5 separate regions of the Homo sapiens genome follow, and regions 2, 3, 4 and 5 are each linked to region 1. The links are contacts of gene promoters, found by promoter capture Hi-C in blood cells and fetal thymus (Javierre and others, 2016). All regions are on one chromosome and are shown on one strand. Each heading gives the region's core, a stretch centred on a gene start or on the middle of the fragment in contact. The rest is flanking DNA. Distances are from core to core; before and after follow the strand shown. Region 1 holds the start of TC2N (tandem C2 domains, nuclear). Region 2 overlaps CATSPERB (catsper channel auxiliary subunit beta). Region 3 overlaps CATSPERB (catsper channel auxiliary subunit beta). Region 4 overlaps CATSPERB (catsper channel auxiliary subunit beta). Region 5 overlaps CATSPERB (catsper channel auxiliary subunit beta).

Evidence for each region. Contacts are between HindIII fragments. The CHiCAGO score rates a contact against its expected background, and 5 or more counts as called.
Region 2: a fragment that was not itself captured here is called in contact with the fragment with the promoter of TC2N in region 1 in 3 of 17 cell types (megakaryocytes, M2 macrophages and M1 macrophages); the score reaches 7.4 in megakaryocytes.
Region 3: a fragment that was not itself captured here is called in contact with the fragment with the promoter of TC2N in region 1 in 7 of 17 cell types (megakaryocytes, M2 macrophages, M1 macrophages and 4 more); the score reaches 14.3 in megakaryocytes.
Region 4: a fragment that was not itself captured here is called in contact with the fragment with the promoter of TC2N in region 1 in 2 of 17 cell types (M2 macrophages and megakaryocytes); the score reaches 6.2 in M2 macrophages.
Region 5: a fragment that was not itself captured here is called in contact with the fragment with the promoter of TC2N in region 1 in 2 of 17 cell types (M2 macrophages and megakaryocytes); the score reaches 5.4 in M2 macrophages.

Annotation. Positions count from the first base shown.
Region 1 is chr14:91,865,876-91,869,047 of GRCh38, reverse strand. It overlaps TC2N (tandem C2 domains, nuclear), which reads left to right and starts at 1,512. Exons shown (of 12, transcript NM_001128596.3): 1 at 1,512-1,786. RefSeq lists an enhancer at 1,297-1,346. The HindIII fragment of the contact is 17,848 bases long and covers 1-1,580 here.
Region 2 is chr14:91,625,774-91,628,945 of GRCh38, reverse strand. The region is part of intron 17 of CATSPERB (catsper channel auxiliary subunit beta); the gene reads left to right. Among named protein-coding and RNA genes, the nearest start is that of CATSPERB, 100 kb to the left of the region's middle. The HindIII fragment of the contact is 3,656 bases long and covers 1-3,172 here.
Region 3 is chr14:91,652,353-91,655,524 of GRCh38, reverse strand. All of the region lies in intron 15 of CATSPERB (catsper channel auxiliary subunit beta), which reads left to right. Among named protein-coding and RNA genes, the nearest start is that of CATSPERB, 78 kb to the left of the region's middle. The HindIII fragment of the contact is 2,277 bases long and covers 331-2,607 here.
Region 4 is chr14:91,675,378-91,678,549 of GRCh38, reverse strand. The region is part of intron 11 of CATSPERB (catsper channel auxiliary subunit beta); the gene reads left to right. Among named protein-coding and RNA genes, the nearest start is that of CATSPERB, 55 kb to the left of the region's middle. The HindIII fragment of the contact is 3,861 bases long and covers 1-3,172 here.
Region 5 is chr14:91,703,776-91,706,947 of GRCh38, reverse strand. It overlaps CATSPERB (catsper channel auxiliary subunit beta), which reads left to right. Exons shown (of 27, transcript NM_024764.4): 7 at 2,247-2,396. Among named protein-coding and RNA genes, the nearest start is that of CATSPERB, 27 kb to the left of the region's middle. The HindIII fragment of the contact is 3,640 bases long and covers 1-3,172 here.

The DNA of each region.
Region 1 (3,172 bases), core at 263-2,762:
TTGATTCCCCGGGACATGCCCCCAGACACTCTGATGTCATTGGGCTTAGGTAGGGCCCGGCCATCAGGATTTTTGAAAACTTGACTATGTAGCCAGAGTTGAGAATGTATTGTTATAAACCCTAGAAAGAGAGGTGGACAGATGGGGCTGGAGCCCTAGCTGCCTTGCCCTCAATGTCTTTTCTGCTCATTGTAGGATACATTATTCTTTTCCTGGTCAGGGCCTCTGGACATCCTTCAAGTCTTAGAACCCTGTGCAGGGGCCAAGAGAGTCAACATTGCAAGTCACAGGAGAACAGGTTGGGATGGCTGTCTTTATGTGCCATCCCAGGAATCAACCCAAGGCTTCAGGAAAAAAGTGCACTCCCTGATAGCTGAGGTGGAGTCTACAGATCCATCTGAGGGTGCTCCCATCCTACCTGTTGGTGAGGTATTCATTAAGGACCCCCACAGTGCCTATCAGGAGTTGTGTCCTGGACCCCTAGTCTTAGTAGGCATTCCACAGATCCTTGTGATATGGACAGGAGACAGGGAAATACTGGGTAGAAGAGGGTGGTTCCCTGGCAAAGGCCCCACCCTCAAGCCTGGGTACCCATGGCCCTAAATGAGGACAGCCATTCCTGTTTTCATCCCTAAAAAGTTGCCTTTTGGCCTGCCATGTCCCCTATCCTGTACCCATATAAACCCTGAACCCCAGGCTCCAGGCTCCAGAAGCAGACGGGGAGACAAGAAGATGAGCAGACATGAATGGCAGAAAAGCACGGCAAAGAAGGAGAGAAGAGAAGGAACATTGGGAGGAATTCGACTGGAGACGATCTGAAAACTGGCCACTGGATGGCCAAACTCCAGGGGAAGATCATCTTCCCACTCCATCCCCTGTCCAGCTCCCCATCCATCCTACTTAGAGCCACCTCCACCACTCAATAAAACCCCTGCATTCATCCTGCAAATCCATGTGTGACCTGATCCCTCCGGGATGCTGGACAAGAGCTCGGGATACAGGAAACTGTCACACTGGCCCTCTGCCCTGGCAAAAAGGGAGAGGGTCCACTAAGCTGGTTAACGCTTAAGCTGTCCACGGATGGCAAGGCTGAAAGACTGCACTGTTTCAGTGCCTACTCGGGCTTTGGAAGTCACAGACACCGACCCCGGGATGCTGTCATGGGGCTGGGGCCCAAAAGTGCTCACCCTGGTTCCTGCACCTGCCTGTCTGCGTGCTCCCCTTCCCATAAGGGGTTTTAGCTTGGGGTGGCTGAAGAGAGAGCCACACCCCTGTTGCACATCCTGTGAGGGGGCCAGGGAATTCTCCTGTTCCACTTAGTAGTATCTTAGGCCTTCAGTGGAAGGAAACAGCATGTTCCACGCCCTGTAGCATCCAAGAAGCTGCAAGTCCTCCCTCCTCACCCCAAGAGCATTTCTCACACCCACACCACACACCTCACTTTGCTGTTGGCTGTGGTTATTTTTTTCTCTAACTAAGCACATCTAAACCATGCCTAGTTGTGGTTCTTCAGTCAGGGTCAAGTGGTGTTAGCAATCACATCAGCACCAAATGGCTCAGGATGCTCTGGTTTCAAAGCTTATAAAACAGAGGGTGATTCCCTTGGGACTCACTCAGCTCGGCTCCGAAAAGCAAAGGCCAGAAGGCAGCAGTGAGCCTGGGTCCCTGCTGTGTAGGGAGACTCAGGGGCTGGGAAGAAGGATGGAATCAGAAATGCTGAAGGTTTACGTGAGCTTTGCACCGAGCGCCTCCGAACCACTGCCTCTGGGCTCAACAGAACACAGGGGTAAGTCTCCATGAACTTCTCAAAAAGAAAACTGGGAAGCTTTCTGTCTTGATGATTTGAGGACCCACTGGTTTCAGAGGTGCCACATTTGGAACCAGATCCGAGTCTTTAAGGTTTGTGTTTTATTTGTTCATGTCAAAATGTGGCTTCCTGCTTCTAAGAAAAGAAACTCAGGCTCATAAAAGCAGCCTCCAAGGGCTTCTTGGACCTCAAATTGCGCTTTCAAAATGTGGTCTGATGGGTTCAGTGTAAATGCACCAGAGGCATGTGGGATCCATTTACCTTAAAATACACTTGGGCCTAAAAATTAAGAGAAAAACAGTCCAGGGCAAAGTGTATACTGCAAAGTCAAGCTCCAAACATTTGGGAAACAGTTCTAGAGGCTGCTGGAACCCCAAATGCTACTTGCTTTACCTACCCCTTGGGAATCATCAAATGTTATTTTTTGTACAAGACTGGGGATGAGCCTGCTCTCTGATCCCAGTGCTGTGCTCTGCTGTGCAGTTCTAATGGGGCAGGCTGTTTCCTGGACCCTGAGATCTCCAGGCTCCCTGTGCCTATTCCTTGTCAGCTTTGCCCCATCCAGGAGCTGGGCTGAGCTTGTCAAGTGACCTCTGCTTTGTACCACTCCATCAGGTCCTGAAGAATGAAGGGTACCAAGGTGGAAGGGGCGCAGGATTAAGAGTAGGGACGCCTGCAAAAGCTCTCGTGTTACCACCTCATCTTCCAACTTTCATGTGGGTGAAAACGTTCATCCTAAATAATTGCTTCTAATTCTGAAGTTTTGTGATTCCTTGAAATGTACTTTGGGGATGACAGCCAGCATTTCCATTTCACTGCAATTTCAGAGTTTTGCAGTGGTTTGCCAATCATAACACTTTCTAATTGGCACAAAATCCACCTACCTGTTGCCTCTCAGGCTTGGGTAACATACTTCAGACACTTTCTTAGGTAAGTCTTGGCCCTTGGGGTGTTATTTGCCCAGATGGTAAAAACATTTAAGTAGGTCTGATTATTTCATTTTCAGTGGTTTCAACGCATTTTTGTGGCCTGGGTGGTTACTGTAATGTGCCCAAGTTGTTCATTCTGAGCCAACGGGGTCACCCACAGAGAGAAGACTTGACAAAGGAACTCTCCTCTACTCCCCTCTTGCCAGATGAAATATTGTTTGTAAAAGGTCTTTGTCTTGAGAGGATCACATACTTTGGTTAAGAATCCACTTTGGTTAAGCCGGTTGCTGGATTCAGAGACATGAACAGGATAGACAGTCCACCGATAACTTTATAATAACACCTTTTTAATAACACCTTTAATAACTTTTTAATAACTTTAAAAGTTATTAAAACTTTATAAAAAGTTAATCTAAAACTTTAATAACTTTTTAAT
Region 2 (3,172 bases), core at 447-2,946, 240 kb after region 1:
AGACTGGCTGTATCATTTCCATTTCTATCAACAATGAACGAGAGTTCCTATTATTCACATACTCACCAGTATTTGGGTTGTCAGTGTTTTGGATTTCTGCCATTCTAATAGTCATGTGGTGGTATCTCATTGTTAATTTGCATTTCCCTGATGACATATGCAGTAGTCTGTTTTCACACTGCTATAAAGAAATACCTGAAACTGGGTAATTTATAAAGGAAAGAGGTTTAATTGACTCACAGTTCTGCATGGCTGGGGAGGCCATGGTGGAAGATGAAGGGGAAGCAAGGCACGTCTTACATGGCGGCAGGAGAAAGAGACAGTGCAGGGGAAACTGCCATTTTTAAAACCATCAGATCTCATGAGAACTCCCTCACTGTTATGAGAACAGCATGGGGAAAACCGCCCCCATGATCCAACCACCTCCCACCAGGTCCCTCCCTTGACACGTGGGGATTACAATTCAAGATGAGATTTGGGTGGGGACATTGAGCCAAACCATATCAGTATATGATGTAGAACATTTTTTGCTATAGTTACCTGCCATCTGCATATATTCTTTGGTGAGGTATCTGTTAAGGTCTTTGGCCCATTTTTTAAATCAGGTTGTACACTTTCTTATTGTTATATTATTAGAGATTTTTGTATTGTAGGAGATCAGATTATGCCAACCCAGAACCATGCAGTGGTGTGTGCCTGTAGGTGCAGCTACTACAGAGTCTGAGGCAGGAGGATCTCAAGTTCAAGCCTAGTCTGGGCAAAATAGTGAGACCTCCAATTTCCAAACAAAACAAAACAAAAAAACAAAGAATATGCCACTTTGGCATAAAGATTATTTGAGCTGAAGGAAATTAAGGAAAAACAAGCACAAGAAAAACTCTTTGCCCCCTCCCACCAGAAAGGGCAGAATGATTCTTAATCACTGAAGATAACTCTAGACTATATAAATATATATTTTTTTCTTTTTAGAGACAGATTCTCACTCTGTTACCCAGGCTGGAGTGCAGTGGTGCAATCATAGCTCACTGCAGCCTCGAACTCCTGGGCTCAAGCAATCCTCCTGCCTCAGCCTCCCATGTAGCTGGGACTACAGGCATGTGCCACCACACCCAGCTAGTTTATTTTATTTTTAAATGTTTTTAGAGGCAAGATCTCACTATGTTGCATCCAAGCTGGTCTCCAACTCCTGGCCTCAAGCAACCCTCCTGCCTCAGGCTTTCCTCCAGAGTAGCTGGGATTACAGGCACAAGCAACTCTAGACTATTAATAAACCCAGAGACACAAAGAATTTACAGAAGAAACCTTCTCAAAACAACCCTTATCTTCCATTAGTTCCCTCCATTTATTTACCTTCCACAGTTTGCTGACCCTAAAAACCTAAGCCCATTTTTCTTTGTCTTGTCACTTCTCTAAAAATTTGTTATGAAGCCCCATGTTCTAACTACCCTTTTTAGCTACTCATCACTGCTGTTTTTCCTGCATGTAAGCACAATGCACATGTTAATAAATTCCACCTGTTTTTCTCTTGTTAATCTGTATTTGTCAGTATAATTGTCAGGGTCTCAGTTACAGAACCAAGGAGAATAGAGGAAAAAGAGGTTTCTTCTCCCTTCCCCTACAGTTTATTTTGGATAACAGTCCTTTATATGTCTTTTGAAAATATTTTCTCCTAGTATGTGGCTTGTCTTCTAATTCTCTTGACAGGATATTTCAGAGTGTAAGTTTGTAATTTTAGTAAGGTACCAATTACTAATGAGAGATACATGCAAACCATAGCATGTATTTTTAACACAAATTCAGTGTTCACTGCTTAACACTGTCATTTAAAAATCTTTACTAATTGGTTAAAAATTGTATCCCATTGTTGTAATTGCAATTTCTTCTATTACAAATGAGGTCGACCAAATGTTAATCAAATGTTTGTTAGCTATTTTTGGTATATTTTGTTTATAAACTATTTGTTCATAAATTGGTTCATGTAATCCACTGTTTTATCCAAATTACTTAATGGTTTTACTTGTGTTTAGGAAAACTGGAGAGAAATTTATCAATTTTCTCTTTCATGGATTGTGTCTTTGGTGTTGTATTCAACAGTCATTGCATGAAGATGGTAAATTTTGTTAGGTGTATCTTCTTAGTCTGTTTCATGCTGCTATAATAGAATATCACAGACTGGGTAATGTATAAAGAAAAGAAATTTATTTCTTACAGTTCTGGAGGGTGGGAAATCCAAGACTGGGGGGCCCACATCTGGTGAGGGCCTCATGCTCCGTCATCCCATGGTGGAAGGCAGAAGGGTGAGCACATGTGAGCACGCATATGAAGCACTCATGTGCAAAAGAGAGAGAGAAAGACAGGGGGAGGGAAGGGACTGAATTCATTCTTTTATCAGGAACCCACTCACACAATAATTAACCCACTCCTGCAATAATGGCATTCATCCATTCGTGAGGGCAAAGCCTCATGATCTAATCACCCCTTAAAAGTCCCACCTCTCAGGTTGCAGTGAGCTGAGATGGCGCCACTGCACTCCAGGCTGGCGGCAGAGCAAGACTCTGTCTCAAAAAAAAAAAAAAAAAAAAAAAAGTCCCACCTCTCAACACTCTTGCATTGGAAATTGTGTTTTCAACACATGAACTTTGAGGAATACATTAAAACCATAGCATATATTTTAACATAATTTTTTTAATTGAGGGAAAAAAGTAATTGCCATACCCAAGGTCATCTAGATTTTCTCCTATGTTATCTTCTTAGGAGTTTTATAGTTTTACATTTTATATTTAAGTCTGTGGCCCATTTAGAGTTCTTTATTTTCTTTTTTGAGACAGGGTCTGGCTCTGTCACCCACGCTGGAGTGCAGTGGCACTATCTCAGCTCACTGCAACCTCCACCTCACAGGCTCAAGTGATCCCACTGCCTCAGCCTCCTGAGTAGCTGGGATTACAGGCATGTGCCACCATACCTGGTTAATTTTTGTATTTTTAGTAAAGATAGGGTTTCACCATGTTGCCTAGGCTGGTCTTGAACTCCTAGGCTCAACCAATCTGCCTGCCTCAGCTCCCAAAGTGCTGGGATTACCGGTGTGAGCCACTGCACCCGGCCTAGAGTTAATTTTTGTGATGATTGTAAGATCTGTGTCTAGATTGAATTTTTTGCATGTGGATATGCAAGG
Region 3 (3,172 bases), core at 220-2,719, 210 kb after region 1:
CTCCAGAATTCTGCTTGATTCTTTTTAATTGTTTCAATCTCTTTGCTAAATTTATCTGACAGGATTCTGGATTCCTTCTCTATATTATCTTGAATTTCCTTGAGTTTTCTCACAACAGCTATTCTGAATTCTCTGTCTGAAAGGTCACATATCTCTGTCTCTCCAAGATCGGTCTCTGGTGCCTTATTTTGTTCCTTTGGTGAGGTCATGTTCTCCTGGATGGTCTTGATGCTTCTGGACATTGATTGGTGTCTGGGGATTAAAGAGTTTGGTATTTATTTTAGTTTTCACAGTCTGGGCTTGTTCGTACCTGTCTTTCTTGGGAAAGCTTTCCAAGTATTCAAAGGGACTTGAGTGTTGTGATCTAAGTCTTTGCTCACTGCAGCTGAATCTGCATTAGGAGGTACCTCAAGCCCAGTAATGCTTTGGCTATTGCCAACTTGTAGAAGTACTGCCTTGGTGGTCTTATGTAAGATCCAGGAGAACTTGTATTACCTGTATTACCAGGTATTACAGGAAGAGACTGTATTACCAGGTATTACAGGAAGAGACTGTATTACCAGGAAGAGACTTTTGTTCTCTTACCTTACTTTCCACCAAACAAATAGTGTCTCTTTCTCTGTGCTAAGCTGCCTGGAGCTAGGGGAGGGGTGATGCAAGCACCCTTGTAGCCACCACCACTAGGACTGCACTGGGTCAAACCCAGAGCCAGCACAGCACCAGGTCTTGCCCAAGGCCCACAGTTTCCACTGCCTGGCTACTACCTATGTTCACTCTAGGCCCAAGAGCTCTATAATCAGCAGGTGATGAGTCCAGCCAGGGTTATGATCTTCCCTTCAGGGCAGTGAGTTGCCCCCAGCCCCAGCTAGGTCCAGAGATGCCATCTGGAAGCCAAGGAAGTTGAGACCCTTAGAGTCTATGTGGTATTCTATTCTATTGCGGCTAAGCTGGCACCCAAGCTGCAAGACAAAGTCTTTCTTACTCTTCCCTCCTTTATCCTGAAGCAGAGCAGTCTCTCTCCATGGCCACCACCACCCCAAGCCCATGGCAATTACCCCCTGGCTACCGCCACTATTCACTCAAGGTCCAAGGGCTCTTCAGTCAGCTTCTGGTGAATGCTGCCAGTCCTGGATTTCTCCTTTCAGGGCAGTGGCCCCACTCTGGCCCAGGGCAGGTTTAGAAATGCCACACAAGAGCCAAGTCCTGGAATCAGAGACCCCAGGAGCCCACTTCGTGAATTGTCCACTGTGGCCAAGCTGGTACCCAAGCTGATTTCTGGTTCTTATAAAGGTGCTTTCTTGTGTGGATCATTGTTCAATTTGATGTTCCTGCAGGGGTGGATAATCACTGGAGGCTCTATTCAGCCATCTTGCTCTGCCTCCTCTCTATAATCCCTCTTTTTCTAATCTTCCCTACTCCCCTCCTCTACTCACCCACCTCCTTCTTTATCCCTTTTCCTTCCTTCTTCTTCTGTTCTTCCCACTCTTCCTGTTTCCATCAAGTTCATCATTAAAGGTGCAGCACTGGTCAGATCTTCTATTTGCTCTAACATAGTGTAGGTGAATTATTCTTGAGACCCATCTGCTTCACCTCATTTAGATAGGACTTGGACCCATTTTCTCAACTCAGTAAAGTGCCTTGGAAAGTGGTAAACCTGGCTTCACTTATGAGGGCTTGATTTTTCCCTTTACTTTTCCTTTTGATATCTTCTCATCCACTGTCACCTTCTTATATGGTTTGGCTGTGTCCCAACCCAAATCTCAACTTGAGTTGTATCTCCCAGAATTCCCACATGTGGGAGGGACCCAGGGGGAGGTAATCAAATCATGGGGGCTGGTTTTTCCTGTGCTATTCTCATGATAGTGAATAAGTCTCACAAGATCTTATGGGTTTATAAGGGGTTTCCGCTTTTGCTTCCTCCTCATTTCTCTCTTGCTGCAACCATGTAAGAAGTGCCTTCCACCCTCTGCCATGATTGTGAGATCTTCCCCAGCCATGTGGAACTGTAAGTCTAATTAAATGTCTTTCTTTTGTAAATTGCCCAGTCTCGGGCATGTCTTGATCAGCAGCATGAAAAGGGACCAATACACCTTCTTACTTGTTAGAAGGGTATAACCGAGAGCCTTCAGGATTTTGTTGATTTACCTTCCTTCTCTCAATATTGCCTCAACAATGAACTATTATAGATTATTGGGTAACTTTTGAGATTGAGGTAGACTTGGAGATATCTTATTAGGTCTAACAGAAATTAGAAAAACACTGTCACCAAGACAAGACAGAGGCTGTGTTTTTTTGTTTGTTGTTTTTAACACACAGCATTTTTTATTGTATAGTTTAAAATTTCTTCTGATCTCCAGTTTCTTCTGATCTTCAGTCTCTGATACGATTTTAAATGACGAAGTTTCTGATATAACTTCAAAAAGCATGGTTTTGCAGGCCTCAATATTTTGTCCTTGATGTTCACCAGCAAAAGCAGTTTTACAGTTATACAATCTCCTCTATTGGTCCTTCCTTGTTTGAGAATAAGGACAGACCACAAAATCCTGATGCTATTTCTCCAGATCTTCACCACTCAGTTTATTTATTCTCTATTCTGTCAATAAAGCTTTTGTTTAACTTATGTCAGTATCAAGATTAATCCATGTGGTTTGTATGTCTGAATCATGTGTTGAGACAGCAGCTGTGTCAACCTAAGATTCTGGTGATCAGACTTTATATGATTGTGAAATAAATGAAAGTAATTGTGAATATTGTTAGGAGCACAATGTTGAACGTTTCCAGTATTCCAGAAAGCTCCCTCTTGCCTCTTGCTGCATTTCTTTTTTTTTTTTTTTTTTTTTTTTTTTTTTTTTTTGAGACAGAGTCTTGCTCTGTTGCTCAGACTGGGGTGCAGTGGTATGATCTCAGCTCACTGCAACCTCCGCCTCCCGGGTTCAAGCGATTCTCCTGCCTCAGCCTCCCGAGTAGCTGGGATTACAGATACCCGCCACCATGCCCAGCTAATTTTTTTTTTTTTTTTTGTATTGTTAGTAGAGACAGGGTTTCACCTTGTTGGCCAGGCTGGTCTCAAACTCCTGACCTCAAATGATCTGCCCATGTAGGCCTCCCAAAATGTTGGGATTACAGGCATGAGCCACTGTGCCCAGCCTAATGGTATTTCACTGAAGATTTA
Region 4 (3,172 bases), core at 295-2,794, 190 kb after region 1:
TTATAAGCCAGCTTGGTAGTGTGCCAGATATGACATATCACATAATACATCAACATCACATAAATATATCTAAACATGTATATGCACACACAAATATCCAATAGCTTTTACCTTAGAATTCTAGCCACAAGATAGCAATATAATCTCATCATTTTATAAAAGATAGCTGGATCTGAATTATTTTTGTGACAAAATTGGAATCTGTTCACATGGCTGAACTTTGTTTGCCTTAGTAGGTAATCCAAGAAAGGCAATGGACCAAAATTTGGCTAAAGCAGTCTTTACGGCAGTTCAGTTTTGTTTTTTATTTTACTTTAAGTTCCAGGATACAAGTGCAGAACGTGTAGGCTCGTTACATAGGTATATATGTGCCATGGTGGTTTGCTGCATCTTTCAACTGTCATCTAGGTTTTAAGCCCCACATGCATTAGCTATTTGTCCTAATGCTCTCTCCCCCCTTGCCCCCCACCTGCCAACTGGCCCTGGTGTGTGTTGTTCCCTTCCCTGTGTCCATGTGTTCTCACTGTTCAACTCCCACTTATGAGTAAGAACATGCGGTGTTTGGTTTTCTTCTGTTCCTGTGTTAGTTTGCTGAGGATTATGGCTTCCAGCTTCATCCATGTCCCTGCAAAGGACATGATCTCATTCCTTTTTAGGGCTGCATAGTATTCCATGGTGTACATGTACCCATTTTCTTTATCCCGTCTACCATTGATGGGTATTTGGGTTGGTTGCATGTCTTTGCTATTGTAACTAGTGCTGCAATACAGTAGCAAGTAGATAAGGGCCCAAATGCGCATGTGCCTTTATAGTAGAATGATTTATTTTCCTTAGAGTATATACCCAGTAATGGGATTGCTAGGTCAAATGACATTTCTGGTTCTAGATCCTTGAGGAATTGCCACACTGTCTCCACAATGGCTGAACTAATTTACATTCCCACCAACAGTGTAAAAGCGTTCCTATTTCTCCACAGCCTTGCCAGCATCTATTGTTTCTTGGCTTTTTAATAATCACCATTCTGACAGGTATAAGATGGTATCTCATTGTGGTTTTGATTTGCATTTCTTTAATGATTAGTGATGTTGCACTCTTTTTTCATATGTTTCTTGGCTGCATAAATGTCTTATTTTGAGAAGTGTCTGTTCATATCCTTTGCCCACTTTTTGATGGGATTTTTTTTCTTGTAAATTTGTTTAAGTTCCTTGTAGATTCTTTGTAGATTCTTGGGTAGATTACAAAAATATTCTCCCATTCGTAGGTTGCCTGTTCCCTCTAATGATAGTTTCTTTTGCTGTGCAGAAGCTCTTTAGTTTAATTAGATCCTGTTTGTCAATTTTGGCTTTTCTTACAATTGCTTTTGGTGTTTTCATCATGAAGTCTTTGCCCATGCCTATGTCCTGAATGGTATTGCCTAGGTTTTCTTCCAGGATTTTTATGGCTTTGGGTTTTACATTTAAGTGTTTAATCCATCTTGAATTAATTTTTCTATAAGGTGTGAGGAAGGGGTTCAGTTTCAGTTTTCTGCATATGGCTAGCCAGTTTTCCCAGCACCATTTATTAAATAGGGAATTCTTTCCCCATTGCTTGTTTTTCTCAGGTTTTTCGAAGATGAGATGGTTGTAGATGTGTGGTGTTATTTCTGAAGTCTCTGTTATGTTCCATTGGTCTAGATGTCTGTTTTGGTACCAGTACCATGCTGTATTGGTTACTGTAGACTTGTAGTATAGTTCGAAGTCAGGTAGCATGATGCTTCCAGCTTTGTTCTTTTTGCTTAGGATTGTCTTGGCTATACGGGCTCTTTTTTGGTTCCATACCATTGACATTCCTTACAGAATTTGAAAAAACTAATTTAAATTTCATGTGGCAGTTCAGTTTTTAAAAGTCTCTTTTATCCTTTTTTTCTTCCATTCCAAATGAGCTTCCAATGTTTACATTTCAGTTAGAACATAAATAATGAGTCTTAGCACCACAGCTTAGTAAAAGCAGATTCAAAGCAGATTCAAGGCAGGCAGAAAAAAAAAAAGAAGATAGAGAACTTTAGAACTCTGATTAACTTTATAGTTGCAAATTAACCATGTGAGCTCTGAATTTTTTTTGCTATAACTTGCCCCTCAGTTTAAAATGTGCACAGAAATGGACCATAATATGTGACCAGCTGGAGTCCCAAAGAGGATGACAAAATCAGGGGCCTTTAGTGAGCAGAGGAGCAGCCTATATTGATGCCTTGCTTTTGCCTCTGTATCAATAATTCCCTGCAACTAGATTGCCAGGAGTTGGGTGAATCCTCCTTATTTTACACAACCAGTGTTGATGGTACCATTCATGGTCCCAATAGGCATGCCTGTGTAAATTTTGCCACACAGTCAGGAGAGCCAAACATGTAAAAGAATTAATTTCCCCAACAGTCTAATGACTGGCGATGACCAATATAGCCTTTTTTTTAACACATCAACCTTAATCTAAGTTCAGGTCCTGCTGCAATCCCAGTAAGCAGTAATGGAAGGGCAACAAATGAGATGGCAAAACAAGTGGACAGAAAGGGCAAAAGAATTGGAGTTGGGACTGTTTAAACATTTATCCCAGGTATTTCCGACAAATAACATTGAAAACCGTAAGTGGGATACAGGCCCATTTAGATAACCCACAGAAGAATTCACATGCTTCTTTCCCCCATAAGATTTGGCACAGCTCTGAGAAGTACTTTGGGGTCCGAGAAAGAGCAACCCAGCCAAGAACCAGGGTGACAAAAGCTGTTCTACTTCAGGGTTGGATCCCTAGATTGAGTGGGGGGCTTAGACAGGCTGCCTTAAAGGGTAGAGAAAGAAGGAAAGAAAGTTGCAAGTAGATAAGGGCCCAAATGTAGATCACATACATACACAGATTCAGATGGTGCACTCCCAGGCTGATTCCCCATCAAGGGGACTAGATAAAAGTCCTGAAACCTTGTCTCAACTTCAGATGGCCCCATGAGCAGCTAGGTCAAAACAGAACAAAGCTCAAGTGGTGCCACAGATAAAGATGATGTACCTGCCCAGACAATGTCGCAAGCAGCTACATCCAAATGGAGCAGAGCTCAAGTGTTACCACAGAAGAGACAGAGGAGACCTGGGTGCATTCCAGTTGACTTATCCAGTTCTGAAGTCTGTTAGCTTCTTCACTTGTCACTTTC
Region 5 (3,172 bases), core at 251-2,750, 160 kb after region 1:
TTGCAATAGTCCCCTTGAGAAGGTCTGGAGTAGATGGACAGTAGCATTAGCAGTGGAGGTGGTGAGCAGAGCCTTCAGAATAGATTTTGAAAGTAGAGCTGCTATGGCTTCTTGGTGGACTAAGATGGGGGAAAACAGAATTAACAAGGATGATGCCTGGATTTCTTACTCAAGCATTCAAGTAGAGGATGATATCATTCACCAAAATGCTGAAGACAGGAGAAGCAGACACTGGGAAATAGGAATCAAGAGTTAAGGCTAGAGTTAGAAATCTTTATTCACTACTGAACTCAAAAGAGAGTGTAAAACCTTGTCTCTATTTCTTCATATCCAATCCACACCCCAAACCACTCATTTGTTTCCATCTCCTCCACGCTACTCAAACTGTTGCTAATCACAGTCACCAGTGACCTTCATATTGGTCACTTTTCTGTCCCCTTTTTAGCTTCTTAGTAGCAGTCAAAACTTTTAATCAGTTCCTTGTTCTTAAAATGCTTAAGATATACTACCTGACTTCAGGAACTTGTATATAAGTAGGGGGGCATTGTCAGCTCCGTGATGTCCAGTGGTAAGCTGAAATCTCCCTGACCTGGGTGTGAATGGTCTGCAAACAAATATTATACCCTGCAACGTCAGCTGCTTTGCCCCACATTTCTTTGAATTCTGGAGTGACTTCCTGGTGAATTAGTGTAGTTAGAGATTGTGTCTCTTTCCCTTCTTGGCTGTCCTTGTGCTGCACTACGTCAACCCAGATGAAAAGTTAGCTTGTTTTCTTGCTTTGCACAAAGTGAAAAAAATATCACATAAAGTCTTTGGGTTTGTAGCAGATTTTATTGAAAGTTGGGGAGACAGAGGAGAATGTAAATAGCTAAATAACTGGTTATCAGTTATCTCTGCTTTTAAAAGTCCTTTGACTATTTTTGAAATTCAGACAGCAGTTGTCTTTCAAATTGCCCTGGCTTACTTTTTGTACTCTTTTTTTTCTCATTTTTTTCTAAAAGAAAAAAAACCCTCCCTTTTATTAATGCATGAAAATTCGACTTTAGCTCCAATCCTTTGCATATCCAAAAGTAATATTTTAAGTTTTAAAATTTGTGACGCCTTGTCTGATGACGTTCTTTCGAAAGGCTCATTGTCTACCCTGGTCTGGTGAGGAAGAGTGTACCCTGATTCTTCTAGTTACAGTGAGTGCAGAGTCCTATTGGAGCACCTGGGAGGAGAGCCTCACTCATTCTAGGGCGTCATGGAAGGCTTCCCAAAGAGGGAGACATTCACATTGAGGACTGAAAAATAGGGTTGTGAGAAAAACAGATATTCAAAGCCCCACAAACTAGAGCCTGTAATGGGAGGCCAGTTCTGGCAAGAAGTAAAGCTGAGGAACCAAGAGGACGTCAGATTCTGGAAGGCCTGGTTTGCCACGTGAAAGACCTTATTCACCACTAGTGCTGCTATTCTGCCTGTGCTGCATTGGAGATGCTTCACCTCTGATTGCTTTCTCTTCTGCATCTCATTCCCAACTTCTATCTTGCAGAAATCCTTCTAAGTCTCTTGGCCCCTAATGATAACTGTCCCTGTTCACCACTGCTACTCTGGATTTTACTCATTTTCATCTACCTACTGTTGTTTCAATGAGATTGGGAAGAGAACAAAAAGTAAATGAGTGGGCTCTAGAAGCAGAAGTTATAAATATATTCTGTGATCCAGCAATTCCATTTATACAGATAGATCCTGTGGCAAATAGTATTTTTCAACTACCTTCCAGAAATCCCTCTCAGTCTCTTGGCCACTAATGATAACTGTCCCTGTTCTCCACTGCTACTCTGGATTTATTCCCATTTTTATATATCTACTGCTATTTCAGTGGGATTGGGAAGAGAACAAAAAGTAAATGAGTGGGCTCAGAAGTTATAAATGTGCGTATTCTGTGATCCAGCAATTCCATTTCTAGGGATAGATCCTGTGGCAAATGGTATTTTTCAAATGTGGCCAAAGCAATCTCTCTCATTCCACATGCTCTTCTGCAATGTAACCTTGCCAGCCCCCCACCAAGGGGAATTAGACTTTACTCCTTATATCCTGGAAAATAGTCACTGACTGATTTTTAACCAATGCAGAGTGAGGTAATGCACCTTTTTTGAACTATAGAATAGTTTCTTTACATAGTTCTTTTAAAACCTTTAAAGGAAAGTAGCATCCATTTTCAAGGGTGCTCCCACAATTTAAACACCCAAATTTGATTTCCACAGAACCGATTCTTCAGTGGACTCCTGGGGATGTGATTCCAGAAAGTGAAATCAGTAAATTATATCCACATGTGGTAGATCTCAAAGTGACAAAATGCCCCTGTGCCAATGATGTGGCATTACTAGGCTTCATTGTGGATACAATAGTTGATGGTAGGTCTACAGCTTCATTAAATGTTGACATTGGCCTTTTATATTTTGTAACAGTAATGTTTAACTGGCAGCAGAAATAAATGCATAGACATAGGGAAGGAAAATTGTTTCCTAAAAATACCTAAAAATTTATTATTCAATACTGTATCTTGTCTACTTCCAAGTATGATATACTAAGTATGTTTTCTTACTGTGACTTTTTGCCATGTTAATTGTGACTTTAGTGTGTCTCCTAATTTCATTTATCCCATGCCCTCCATTAATATGTTACTTTCTCCCAGAGATTATCTGCTATTCCTACCATGTATAAATAGGTATTTTTGTTCTTGAAATACCACATTACTTAGTTTATGTTTGCATTTTTTTCATTACTACTGTAATATCTGAGAGCATCTATATAGGGAAAGAAACAACTGTTTCTCTCTATATCCATTTCATAACACTCTAATACCAAATGTATGGATTTTCCACACCGAGTGATTCTCCAGTTCTCTGTGGATGACCGAGTAGGTGTCCTATGATTTAATACAATTCTGGCACTAGCTATCTGGAGTTAGCACAGACCCCCCTCTCCAGCCAACAACAGATTAAGGGCTCAGTCCCACAAGACTGTCCCCCAATTCAAATGCCGGTCACAAGTCCCAGGTTGTAGTTCTAATCAACTAATTATAATTTGGGGAGGTCCCACAAATCCTTCCTTGAGTTCAATAATTTGCTAGCACAACTCACAGAACTCAGGGGAACGTTTATTTAGGTTTGCCAGTTTATTATAAAGG